Linked DNA regions of Homo sapiens: regions 1 and 2 are each linked to region 3. Evidence: promoter capture Hi-C in human tissues and cell types (Jung and others, 2019). All regions are on one chromosome and are shown on one strand. Each heading gives the region's core, a stretch centred on a gene start or on the middle of the fragment in contact. The rest is flanking DNA. Distances are from core to core; before and after follow the strand shown. Region 1 holds the start of KRTAP5-3 (keratin associated protein 5-3). Region 2 has its middle 8.5 kb from the start of FAM99B. Region 3 holds the start of SYT8 (synaptotagmin 8).

Region 1 (4,056 bases), core at 1,451-3,950, 230 kb before region 3:
TGCTTTAAACATAGCACTTTAAAGCTTTATTTATTTACTTACTTATGTATTTATTTATTTATTTATTTAGAGAAAGAGTCTAGCTCTGTCGCCCAGGCTGGAATGCAGTGGTGCGATCTAGGCTCGCTGCAACCTCCGCCTCCTGGGTTCAAGCAATTCTCTTTCGTCAGCCTCCCAAGTAGCTGGGATACAGGCGCCCACCACCATGCCTGGCTAATTTTTGTATTTTTAGTGGAGACGGGGTTTCACCATGTCCTTTTAGAAGTTTCAGGGTTGTGAATAGTGTCTAGTCAACCTTACTACCGAAACAGAAACTCAGAAGCAATTTCTGAAACTTCCGTGTTGTTGAGTTTTCACTTTCTTGTCGCAGTTCCGCCAGGCACTCACTGCCTACCATCCTGTGAGACGGTGGCTTCCCGAGCAGCCTCCAGCGCTCTGCTGTTACAGACGCCTGGGTCTGGGGGCTCCAGCCTTGCAGCCCACCTCCTCCTCCGCCAGCTCCTGCCTTCCCTCCCCATGAGTCGAACATGCTGGACTTTGGTCTAGGCCCTCCAGCCTCCGGAACTGGGAGAAATGGTGTCTGTTGTTCCGTCTTCCAGGCTTACTCTGTGGGTTTTGTTCTGGCAGCCCCAGCTGACAGAGGCAGCAGGGAAGGGACAGGTGGGCACCTGAATCAGAAGTCTGTGTAGGGAGGTGTCACAAGGAGGCAGGAAATAGATGTCTGTAGGAAGCCTTCCAGGAGATGCTGAGGGATTTGGCGACTTGTGGGGGAGAGAAGCCCAAGGGGCCTCCCAATTCTGTATCCTGGAAGATGGGAAAGACGGAGACGCCCCAAGCCAAGTGGATGCCACGGCTGAGTTGTGCCCCCTGGTTCATATGTTGGAGTCCTCAACGCAGTATCTCAGAATGGCACCTTATTTGAAGATAGGTCTTTACAGGGGTGATTAGTTCAAACATGGACCTAATGGAGTAGGGTGGGCCCTAGTCTAATCTGTGTCCTTATGCAAAGAGATGAGGACGCAGACACACACAGAGGGATGAGTACGTGAGGATATAGGGATGGCGGCATCAGTAAGCCACGGAGGGAGGCCTCAGGAGGACCCGGCCCTGAGGCACCTCGATGGCGGATTCCGGACTCCAGACTGTGAGACAATCCACTCCTGTTGCTTAAGCCACACGGTTTGTGGAGCAGCCCTAGCAAACTCACACAGCAGGGTACGGGGGGTTCCCAAATGCCTGGGAGTGCAACTCTGTGGAAAGTGTACATTTCTCTAATCACACAGAAGTTGAAACAAAAGAATCACAATGCAAACTCGTGGGAGGTGCAGATCGTATTTATTTAGAAGATCTAGCCTAGGCACTTACAAGGCGAAGCCCTGGGGAAAGAAACAGGGCCAGGTCGGAGGTAGAAGAGGAGACTGGGCGCCCCTCCTCCTCAGGAGAGGATCCTGGGGTCTCCAATAATTCCGAGTCCTCTAGGTCAACTCCAAAAGCAATCGGAGCGGTGGCAGCTCAGGCAGGATGAAGACGAAGCGGGGAGGAGCCAGGAGGTTGCGGGGACCGGGGAGAGGCGGCAGCAGGTCGGAGGATTCCAGTGTCAGCGTGTTTCCAGCAGGCTCACAGGAGGGGCCCAGGGATGTGGGATCTTGAAGCCCTGAGAAGGTTGAAGTGGTGGGGTCAGGAAAGGAAGACGGGATTCCGGGAGGGTTGATGGGCAGGACCCAGCATGCCAGAAGCCCTCATGACCTCAGAGGCTGAGCGGCTGAGTACTGAGCCCTGGACGCTAGGCTGCCTTAGTCCAGAGGAGGACAGATTCAGAGACGTGCTTCAGGAATTCAGGACACAGCTGCAATCATTCCTGGAGAGCCCGGATCTGTAGGACCCACTGAGGTTTGTGGGCAGAGCCTCAGATCTTGCACTGGCAGCAAATTGGGACACAGCAGCTGGACTGGGAGGAGCAGGGCTTGCAGCAGCTGGACTGGCAGCAGGATGACCCACAGCCTGAGGAGCAGCAGCAGGGCTTACAGCAGCTGGACTGGGAACAGCAGGGTTTGCAGCAGCTGGACTGGCAGCAGGATGACCCACAGCCTGAGGAGCAGCAGCAGGGCTTACAGCAGCTGGACTGGGAACAGCAGGGCTTACAGCAGCTGGACTGGGAGCAGCTGGGCTTGCAGCAGCTGGACTGGCAGCAGGATGACCCACAGCCTGAGGAGCAGCAGCAGGGCTTATAGCAGCTGCACTGGGAGCAGCCACAAGAACCGCAGCCCCCCTTGGAGCCCCCACGAAATCCACAGACCCCCTTGGAACCCCCACAGGAGCCACAGCTGGAGGAGCAGCAGACGGGCACACAGCAGCTGGAGCCACAGCCCCCCTTGGAGCCTCCACAGGAGCCACAGCCCCCCTTGCAGCCCCCACAAGAGCCACAGACCCCCTTGGAGCCCCCACAGGAGCCACAGCTGGAGCAGGAACAGGCTGGCACACAGCAGCACACGGGCTTGCAGCAGCAGACAGGTACACAGCAGCCGGAGCCACAGCCCCCATAGCCGGAGCCACAGCCCCCACAGCTGGAGCCACAGCCCCCACAGCTGGAGCCACAGCCTCCAGAGCAGCCAGAGCAGCCCATGGTTCTGGTGGGTTGAGGGTGGAGCAGGTAGAGGAGCAGGTGAGAGGGAGGTGTGCAGGTGTGGAGTTCTCTGAGCCCGGGCTCTTTATATTCCTGCCCAGGTGTTTATACTGAACACGTGAATACTTCTGTTGTTGTTTCTGCTATTTCACATGCACAAGTGTTATTTTTAATCTCTCCACAATCCCATGAGCCACCATCAGCTCAAGCCAAGCTGTCCTTTCCTTGGTTTCTAAATTTGGCCTCTTCCTCATAGGTGTTTCCCTTTGTTAGAAGACACTGGGCTCCCTCTCCAGTGGGTGTCCCAGGAGCCTGGGAGGCGGTGGTTGCTTGGCCGAAGGGTGGACCATTGTCCTTGGTGCTCAGGGCTCTCCTCAGCGATGCAGACCCTCCACCCCCTGGCATTGGTGTTTATATCAAGGATGGTCATTTGGTAAAAAATAAAATAAAATAAAAATTAAAAAAATAAGCTGAAAGAAAGGCTGTCTATAGGTTCCACCGCTTAAAAACTTCAAGTATAAATATTTTGTCAAATCTGTAAAACAAAGTTTTGAAGAGCATGGATTTGAGTGTGGCCCTGGTTCTCCTTTGTCTTTCTTACCTCTTCCTCCTGCGGTTTGGCTCACTCCTCCAGACACGGATTAGACCCACGTTCCCTTCAGGCAAGCTGGGCTCACAGAGGGAACAGAGGAACAGGACCCTTTCTAATGCTTTTGAGTTTTCCTCTATTAATTCTTTGTAAAAATTCTACAAATCAATGGATATTCTTCAAGTTTATTCTTCTTGAAGGCTACAAAAATTTTGATTAGCCAACCTCTCTAACACACTTTTATTTTCTAAAAGATTAATTTTAATATTTTTTTTTTGAGAAGGAGTATCGCTCTTGTCACCAGGGCTAAAGTGCAGTGACGCAATCTCGGCTCACTGCAATCTCTGCCTCCTGGGTTCAAGCAATTTTCCTGCCTCAGCCTCCCCAGTAGCTGGAATTACAGGCGCCCACCACCAGGCCTGGCTAATTTTTTTGTATTTTTAGTGAAGACAGAGTTTCACCATGTTGGGCAGGCTGGTTTCGAACTCCTGACCTCAGGTGAACCACCCGCCTCAGTCTCCCAAAGTGCTGGGATTACAGGTGTGAGCCACTGCACCCAGCCAAATTTTAATTTTTTATTAAGGTAAAATTTACATGCAGTGAAAAAAAATTTTTTTTCTGAGTCTCCCTCTGTCACCCAGGCTGGAGTGCAGTGATGCAATTTCAGCTCACTACAACCTCTGCCTCCCGAGTTCAAGCAATTCTCCTGCCTCAGCCTCCCAAGTAGCTGGGATTACAGGCACCCACCACCACACCCAGCTAATTTTGTATTTTTAGTAGAGACGGGGTTTCACTATGTTCGCCAGGCTGGTCTCGAACCCCTGACCTCAGGTGATCCACCTGC
Region 2 (4,090 bases), core at 1,210-3,709, 160 kb before region 3:
ATCTGGCAGCTCCTCAAATGACCAGCCCTGGGAAGGGAACATGGTCATGAAAATAATAAGAAAGAAAAAGGACTACAGCAAAACAGAAAACCTGATTTAAGACAGCAGGACTTTTGAATCCTGATACAACAGGTTATCAGAAGAACGAATAAATTAAACTTACCAATTAAAAGACACAAGAGTATGGATGGAGTTAAACGATGTTACCCGCGAGAGACACAGAATAGTTGACAATAACAGGAAGGGAAAATGCAAGCCAATTGTATGTGGACTGAAAGAAGGCTACAAAAGGATTAAAACATTAAGCCACAATGCAGCTTTCTGACAGTCAAATGATCAACATACAGAAATATATTTTCCAACCACAGGGCAAAAAAAAAATTAGAAATTAAGTCACAAAAGGGATAGTGCAAATATTGTATGTTTGGAAACCAAATAGTCTATTACCATAAATTTGGGGTTAAAGAGATAATCATAATTATTAAAAAGTAATAAAAACATTGCACATTAGAAGGACGGGGCAGAGTGAAGCAGCTGTTACTGAGAGGTGTACGGTACTAAATACATTTCTCACAAATTATGAAATTGGATGTCTACGCAGATGTTTTGCCTGTTTCTAACGGAGCTGTTTTTGTCATTAATTTTTTAGTTCCTTTTCCATTCTGGGTTCAATCTTTCATCAGTGATATGGTTTGCAAATACATCCTCCAGATCTGCGACTTATCTTCCGATTTCTTGTTAGTGTCTTTTGAAGCACACATTTGAAAAAAATTCGATGAAGTTCACCCTATCAATGTTTTATTTTACGATCTTATTTTTGATGTCATGGCTAAGGAATTGCACCTGGCCCACAGCTTCCTTGACTTTCTCCCATGTTTTCTACAAGTTTTAGTTCCCGGTTTTCATGTAACCCTCTTTGTGTTAATTCTTGTGGAGGACATGAGATAGGGTTCCAAACTTCTTTCTCATGTGGCTATCCAGATGTCCCAGCACTATTTGTGGAAAAGACTGTCTGTCCCCCGACTGAGTTCTGTTTGTTGCCTTTGTCAAAAATCAATTGACAATCTACATAAAACGTTTTTTTTTTTTCCTGGACTTTTGATCCTGTTTCATTGATCTGTGTGGCTACAGTGAAACCAATACGAGACTGTCTTTGTTACTAAATTTTGTTCTTTTAAAAAATTGTTTTATCCATACCGGGTCCTTTAAGTTATTTTTGTCATGAAGTTTTTAGCTCTTTTTTCTATTCTGGATACAATCTTTTATCAGTTATATGATTTGTCAATATTTTATCCTAATCGGTGGCTTTCCTTTCATTTTCATTTGTAAATATTAGGATCAATTTGTCAAATTTTGCACAAATGCCTGCTGGATTTTGACAGGGATTATATTGGATTTACAAATTGCCATGTTAACGTGATTGTGCCTCTGGCCCATGAACACGGGCGGCCTCCCCAGTTGCTCATGTTTTCTTTAATTCCTCTCAGCAGGATTTGGGGGTTTTAGCATTTAACTCTTATACTTCTTTGGTTACGTATATGCTTCTGTATTTTATTCTATTATTATTTAAAATTTTCTTAATTTCATTTTCAGATTGTCTATTACTAATGTATAGAAATTCAGTGGATTTTTGTGTATTGATACTACACTCTGCACCTTTGCTGGATTTTTTATTAGTTCTAACAGGAGTGTTTGTGTTTATTCTGCTTAGGGCTCTCCAAAATTCTCAAATATGTGATTTTTTTTGTCTTTGACTAGCTTTGGGAGACTCTCAGCCACCATCTCTCCAAGTAGCTTTTCTTCCACGATTTCTTCTTTCCTCTTAGGATCATAAGTGGACATTCACTAGAGTGTGTTGAAGTGTTTTAAAGGTCTTGGATGCTTGATTTAGTTCTCTCTCTTTGTCTTTTTTCTCTTTGTGTTCATTTTGGATGACTTCTACTCACCTGTCTCCCAGTTTATGGATTCTTTCCTTAGTTCTTTCCAGTGTGTTAATTAGCCTATGATAAGAATGTTGATATTGTTGGTGGGGGGGCGGTGGTGGAGAGGCTATTTCCATTTGACTTTTGTTTTTTTTGAGACAGGGCCACGCTCTGTTGCCCAGGCAGGAGTGCAGTGGTTCGATCACAGCTCACTGCAGCCTCTAACTCCTGGGCTCAAGAGATCCTCCTGCCTCAGCCTCCAAAGTAGCTGGGACTATAATCCCAGCACTTTGGGAGGCCAAGGTGGGTGGATCACCTGAGGTCAGGAGTTCAAGACCAGCCTGACCAACATGGTGAAACCCCGTCTCTACTAAAAATACAAAACATAGTTGGGCATGGTGGCACACGCCTGTAATCCCAGTACTGGGGAGTCTGAGGCAGGAGAATCACTCGAACATGGGAGGCAGAGGTTGCAGTGAGCCAAGATCACACCACTGCACTCCAGCCTGGGCAACAGTGTGGGACTCCATCTCAAAAATAAATAAATAAAAACAGTGTTCTAGTTTTTTTCAGTTTTCATTTATCTGTTGAAATTCCTCACCTGTTAATGCATATTGACTAAACATACCCATCACAGTTATTTTTATTTATTTATTTGTTTTTTTGAGATGGAGTCTAGCTCTGTCACCCAGGCTGGAGTACAGTGATGTAATCTCAGCTCACTGCAAGCTCTGCCTCCCGGGTTCGAGCGATTCTCCTGCCTCAGCCTCCCGAGTAACTGGGACCACAGGCACCTGCCACCATGCCCAGCTAATTTTTGTATTTTTAGTAGAGATGGGGTTTCACCTTGTTGGCCAGGCTGGTCTCGAACTCCTGACCTCATGATCCGCTCACCTCGGCCTCCCAGAGTGCTGGGATTGCAGGAGTGAGTCACCGCACCTGGCCTGTGAGTTATTTTAAAGTCCCTGTGCAACAGTGTCAACATTGGAGTCATCTCAAAGTTGGATTCTATTAATTGTTTTATCACATGGCCATGGTTCATTTTACCTTCCTTCCTTGCTATCTCATAAATTTTAATTGAATTTCAGACACTGTGTCCAGAGAATAATAGAGACGGAGGCAGGTAGCCTTTATGCCCCAGATGGCTTTGGATCCCCTTCTTCTGGGTATGAATGTGGGATCTGTGCCAGCCTGGGCCATGGGTGGGCCGGGTCAGGGTGAGGTGTGGCCGCCATTACCTCAGGGCGTCAGAGACTGCGAGGCCTCCTAGGCAAGCTCACCCTTACCTGGTGCTGAAGCCTGGGGCTGGGGACCAGGGAGGATTTTCTTTTTTCTTTTTTTGAGACAGAGTTTTGTTCTGTCGCCCAGGATGGAGTGCAGTGGCGTGATCTCAGCTCACTGCAAGCTCCACCTCCCGGGTTCATGCCATCCTCCTGTCTCAGCCTCCCAAGTAGGTGGGACTACAGGCGTGTATCACCACGCTGGGCTAATTTTTTTGTATTTTTATTAGAGATGGGGTTTTGCCACGTTGGCCAGGCTGGTTTCGAACTCCTGACCTCGTGATCTGCCCGCCTTGGCCTCCCAAAGTGCTGGGATTACAGGTGTGAGCCACCACGCCCGGCCCCAGGGAGGGTTTCCTCAGTGCCCCTACAGCTCCATTGCAGCAGGCCCTTCATGCCTGAACCACAGAGGTGGTTTTCTCCATGTTCTTGCCCCTTCGTTCATTTTACGCAACAGATATCTATTGAGCAACTGCCATGTGCCAGACACTGAGCTCAAGTATGGTTTATTCTAGCGAGGCAGGAAGAGCAGTGGGTCTATTTATGTGATTCTGGAAATTCACAAAGGATGAAACCTATGACTACTCAAGTATTAGCTGCAAAAGCTGGTAAAGTTCAACAAAGTTCGAAAGCTTGCTATGGTTCAGCATTCGTTTATGTTAGAAAAAAAGAAAAACTTGAAAAGCTATTAATATCTAACTTCTGAAGAATATCCCTCGGGAAGTGATATTAAAAGTCACATAGAAACATTAGGAGAAGCAGCTACTACCTGTCTTATTAAACATTGTTTTGAATGATAGCATTGGGACACACTAAAAACTAAATACAGTTCAAAATATTTAAAAGGAAGAAATGAAACAACTAGAACAAAAGCTGAGTAAAGATACA
Region 3 (3,405 bases), core at 906-3,405:
AAATCACTGCAGGGGAGCTCTCCCCGCCCGGCCCTGACTGTTCTTAGACTAAAGGAGGGGGGACGCCAGCAAAGCGGGGGCACAGGGGAGGGGCGCACGCACACGCACACGCACACATGCCCGCACTCACAGATGGAGATTCTGTATTGGCAACTTATCCGGAATCTCAACCATAAAAATCTGGAGTGAAGCTACTTTAATCTCAGCATGTATACAGGCTCTGACATTTCAAAAAGAGAAGTTGCCTTGAAACTCCACGTAGGGAGGAGGCAGTGGCCTGTTTGAATCTGGCCGGCACAGTCCCGCTCCAGGGACCCTGCGGACCCAGCCCATTCCATCAGCCACCACCAGTAGGAGCGCTCCGCCAGCCACGTGTGGGACGCCGGACCCACCTGGGAGTGTCCCCCAGGAGCTGAGGGGCTGCCGAGGCCCGTGAGCTTCACTGCACACCCACACTGCATCTGCAGGGGACTCACCCAAAGGGTCCCCCGAACTCGACAAGCTCCGTCATTTGTGAGGCCCAGTGCAGAATGAAAATGTGCAGCATCTTGTTCCAAAATTAAGAATTTCAAGATGGCCCCAGCACGCATTAAACCAAGCAGGGACCCCTCTGAGCATGGGGCCCTGCGCACAGGGTGCAGCCTGGAAAGCTGGCCCTGACCTCCGCATCTCCTTTTTGTACCTATAATCCCTCCATTGTGCTGGCCCCTGTGTTCTGGGGACAGGCTGGGCTTCCCAGGCCATGCTGGCCTCCAGAGCCACAAAACTAGAGCTCCCAGCCTCGGTCCACTCGTCTGTAAAACACCTGGCCTGCTGACCTCACAGGGTCAACATGCGTGTGGGGCTGGAACCTGGACCCTCCCTCCCCTCCTTGAGCTGCAGCCCCCTCATCTGAACACTGGGGGTTTGGGTCCGTTCTGGGAGTGCAGCTGCCTCTCCCAGCCTGCCAGGGAGTGGGGCATTGATGCTGTGTGCGCGTGCGTGTGTGTGTGTGTGTGTGTGTGTGTGTGTGTGTGTGTGTGTGTGTGTCTGGAGTCATGGCAGGGTCCCTTTCTGTCTGTCTCCTTGCTCTGCCCCAGACTGGGGGGCTGCAGAGGTGAGGGTATCTGGCCTCAACAGCTGCTTATTCCCGATGGGATGGCCTGGGCTGGGCCCCTGAGGCCAGGCTGACTTGGACATGGCAAGAGGGGTCCCAGGCTCTTGTGGGCAAAGCAGGGGAGGCGCCAATGTGGAGGAACAGAGTCTCCTGGCTGGCTGCTGCTCTCTGGAGCGGGTGGAGTCAGGGAAGAGCTGAGCTGGGGAGTCACCCTGGGCCTGGGGTCACCGTAGGCCCCATGTAGCACCCTGGTTCCCCTGCCTGTAGGTGACAGGAGCCAGCCCAGCCAGGTGTGCTCCCTCCCCAGGCCCTAGGCAGGCGGGTACAGGGGCCAGCAGCTGCGCCCGCCCCACCTTCCTTCCCACCCACATGCCGAAGGGTGGCCAGGCAGGCAGGTGGACGAGTCCAGGCAGCGGCTGAGTCAGTGTGTGTGGAATGTTCTGGCCGCTCCCAGCTGCACCCTGCCCCTACCTGCCACCACCTCACCTTCATCCTCAGGCGCTGCGGCCCTGAGCCCCTGCCAGGAATGCACCTTTAGCCCAGGCCTGCTCAGTGAGCTCCGCCGACAGCCAGCCCTGCTCCTCCCGCCATGACCCTGCAGACCCCTCTGGGCTTCCAAGTTCCTGGGGGCTGCAGTGAACATGCTCCACCTGCATGGCTGGCAAACCATGGTGGGCCCCAGCTGTGGTGCGTGCTGGGGTAGAGGCAAGGAAGTGATGGGACCGCAGAGATGAGACCCCCAGGGATGAGATGGGACCCCCAGGCAGGGCCCAGGGTCCAGGGCCCAGGAGAGAGAAGCAGGGAGGGAGAGAGCTTCCTGGTGGAGGACGCATCCTACAGTGGGGGCAAGGGTGCTCTGAGGTCCGGTGAAGGCAGGGACTAGGCTGCCCAGGCCCTGCCTGCTTGGCTGGGGCTGGGGGCTGCTGGGAGGTGGCTGGGAGGCTGGGCCTGGGCAGCTAAGCTGGAGCTTTGGCCAGGGTCCAGAGCCTCCCTCCCTTCAGCTTCCTGCTGCACAGAACCCTCGCCCCTGGCCACCCCGTGCTGCCTCCTTGCCCTGGCAGACCCAGCACTGGCTGCTGCTAGTCAGATGGGGTAGCGGGCAGGGGCCGGAGGGGCCACCCTCCCAGCTGACCCAGCCTCCTGGGCCGCTTCTTCCAAACCAGCAGGGTAGAAAGATGGGGCACCCACCAGTCTCTCCCAGTGCCCCGGCCCCAGCTGGCACCACAGCTATACCTGGGCTTATTCCAGACCTTGTCGCCGGGACCCCCTGTGAGTTGTGGGATTCCCAAGAGGGGTGTGGGGATAACCCAGCCAAGTGGGGGCTGCAGCTGTCCACAGATGCACTCAGCCTGGCCTCTACCCCAGGGCCCCGCTGGGCTCTCATTGCCGGCGCCCTTGCCGCGGGCGTCCTCCTCGTCTCCTGCCTCCTCTGTGCTGCCTGCTGCTGCTGCCGCCGCCACAGGAAGAAGCCCAGGGACAAGGAGTCCGTGGGTCTGGGCAGTGCCCGCGGCACCACCACCACCCACCTGGTGAGGAGCGGCTCCTTGCTCACTCAGTCCAGAGAGGGCTTGAAATCCAGGCTCCAGAGCCCAGGGCAGCGAGGCGAGTTCAGCCCCAGGGATGGTTTAACCCCCACAGAGGCAGGGCGTTGAGGACCTTCCTGGCAGGGAAAGTGGGTGAACAGAGGTGAGAAGGAGGCCATGCAACAGGGGCTGCCCCATGGGCCCGAGGGAGCCACAGCGGGTTCTTGAGGAAGGCAGGGGGTACCCCAGATGCCACGTTTTGGGTGGGTTTGGCCGGTCTCACAGAGCGAAGCCGACGATTTGTGCCTGTTGGGTGGCCTGGCCTGGAGGCGGGGGGTCTTGACCCATGTCATGCAAGGGCTGCCCGGGAGCCCAGGGCTCTGATGAGGCATGATGTCAGCACCACCTGCCCCTTGTCCCAACTCACTCCAGGTGCAACCTGATGTGGATGGCCTGGAGTCCAGCCCGGGGGATGCTCAGCAATGGGGGTGCCTGCAGCTCTCCCTGGAGTTCGACTTTGGAAGCCAGGAGGTGAAGGGCCCCGCTGCGCAGGACCAGCGGTTCTGCGAGTTTCCGGAAAGGGTGACGGGGGAAGGGCAGACCCCATGCCCTGGGTGGTGGGGAGCTGACAGGGCAGGGGCCCTTGGCTGAGCCCACCCCGCTGGCTCCCAGATCAGGGTGGGCCTGAGGCAGGCAGCCGACCTGAGGCCTGGGGGCACCGTGGACCCCTATGCCCGGGTCAGCGTCTCCACCCAGGCCGGACACAGACATGAGACAAAAGTGCAC

What was found. The method cuts DNA at HindIII sites, captures the fragments that hold promoters and counts their contacts. A contact is called where the count stands out against the background at its distance.
Region 1: a contact is called between the fragment with the promoter of KRTAP5-3 here and the fragment with the promoter of SYT8 in region 3, in 1 of the 25 tissues and cell types used here (liver).
Region 2: a fragment that was not itself captured here is called in contact with the fragment with the promoter of SYT8 in region 3 in 5 of the 25 tissues and cell types used here (bladder, mesenchymal stem cells, mesendoderm cells and 2 more).

What each region holds. Positions count from the first base shown.
Region 1 is chr11:1,605,763-1,609,818 of GRCh38, forward strand. KRTAP5-3 (keratin associated protein 5-3) reads right to left here and starts at 2,701. Exons shown (of 1, transcript NM_001012708.2): 1 at 1,803-2,701. The coding sequence starts at 2,623. The coding sequence ends at 1,907. The HindIII fragment of the contact is 8,426 bases long and covers 1-4,056 here.
Region 2 is chr11:1,675,103-1,679,192 of GRCh38, forward strand. No RefSeq gene overlaps it. Among named protein-coding and RNA genes, the nearest start is that of FAM99B, 8.5 kb to the right of the region's middle. The HindIII fragment of the contact is 6,262 bases long and covers 1-4,090 here.
Region 3 is chr11:1,832,835-1,836,239 of GRCh38, forward strand. SYT8 (synaptotagmin 8) reads left to right here and starts at 2,156. Exons shown (of 8, transcript NM_001394072.1): 1 at 2,156-2,365; 2 at 2,462-2,625; 3 at 3,052-3,150; 4 at 3,292-3,405. The coding sequence starts at 2,272. RefSeq lists a silencer at 1-14 and enhancers at 117-732, 733-1,346. The HindIII fragment of the contact is 28,273 bases long and covers 1-3,405 here.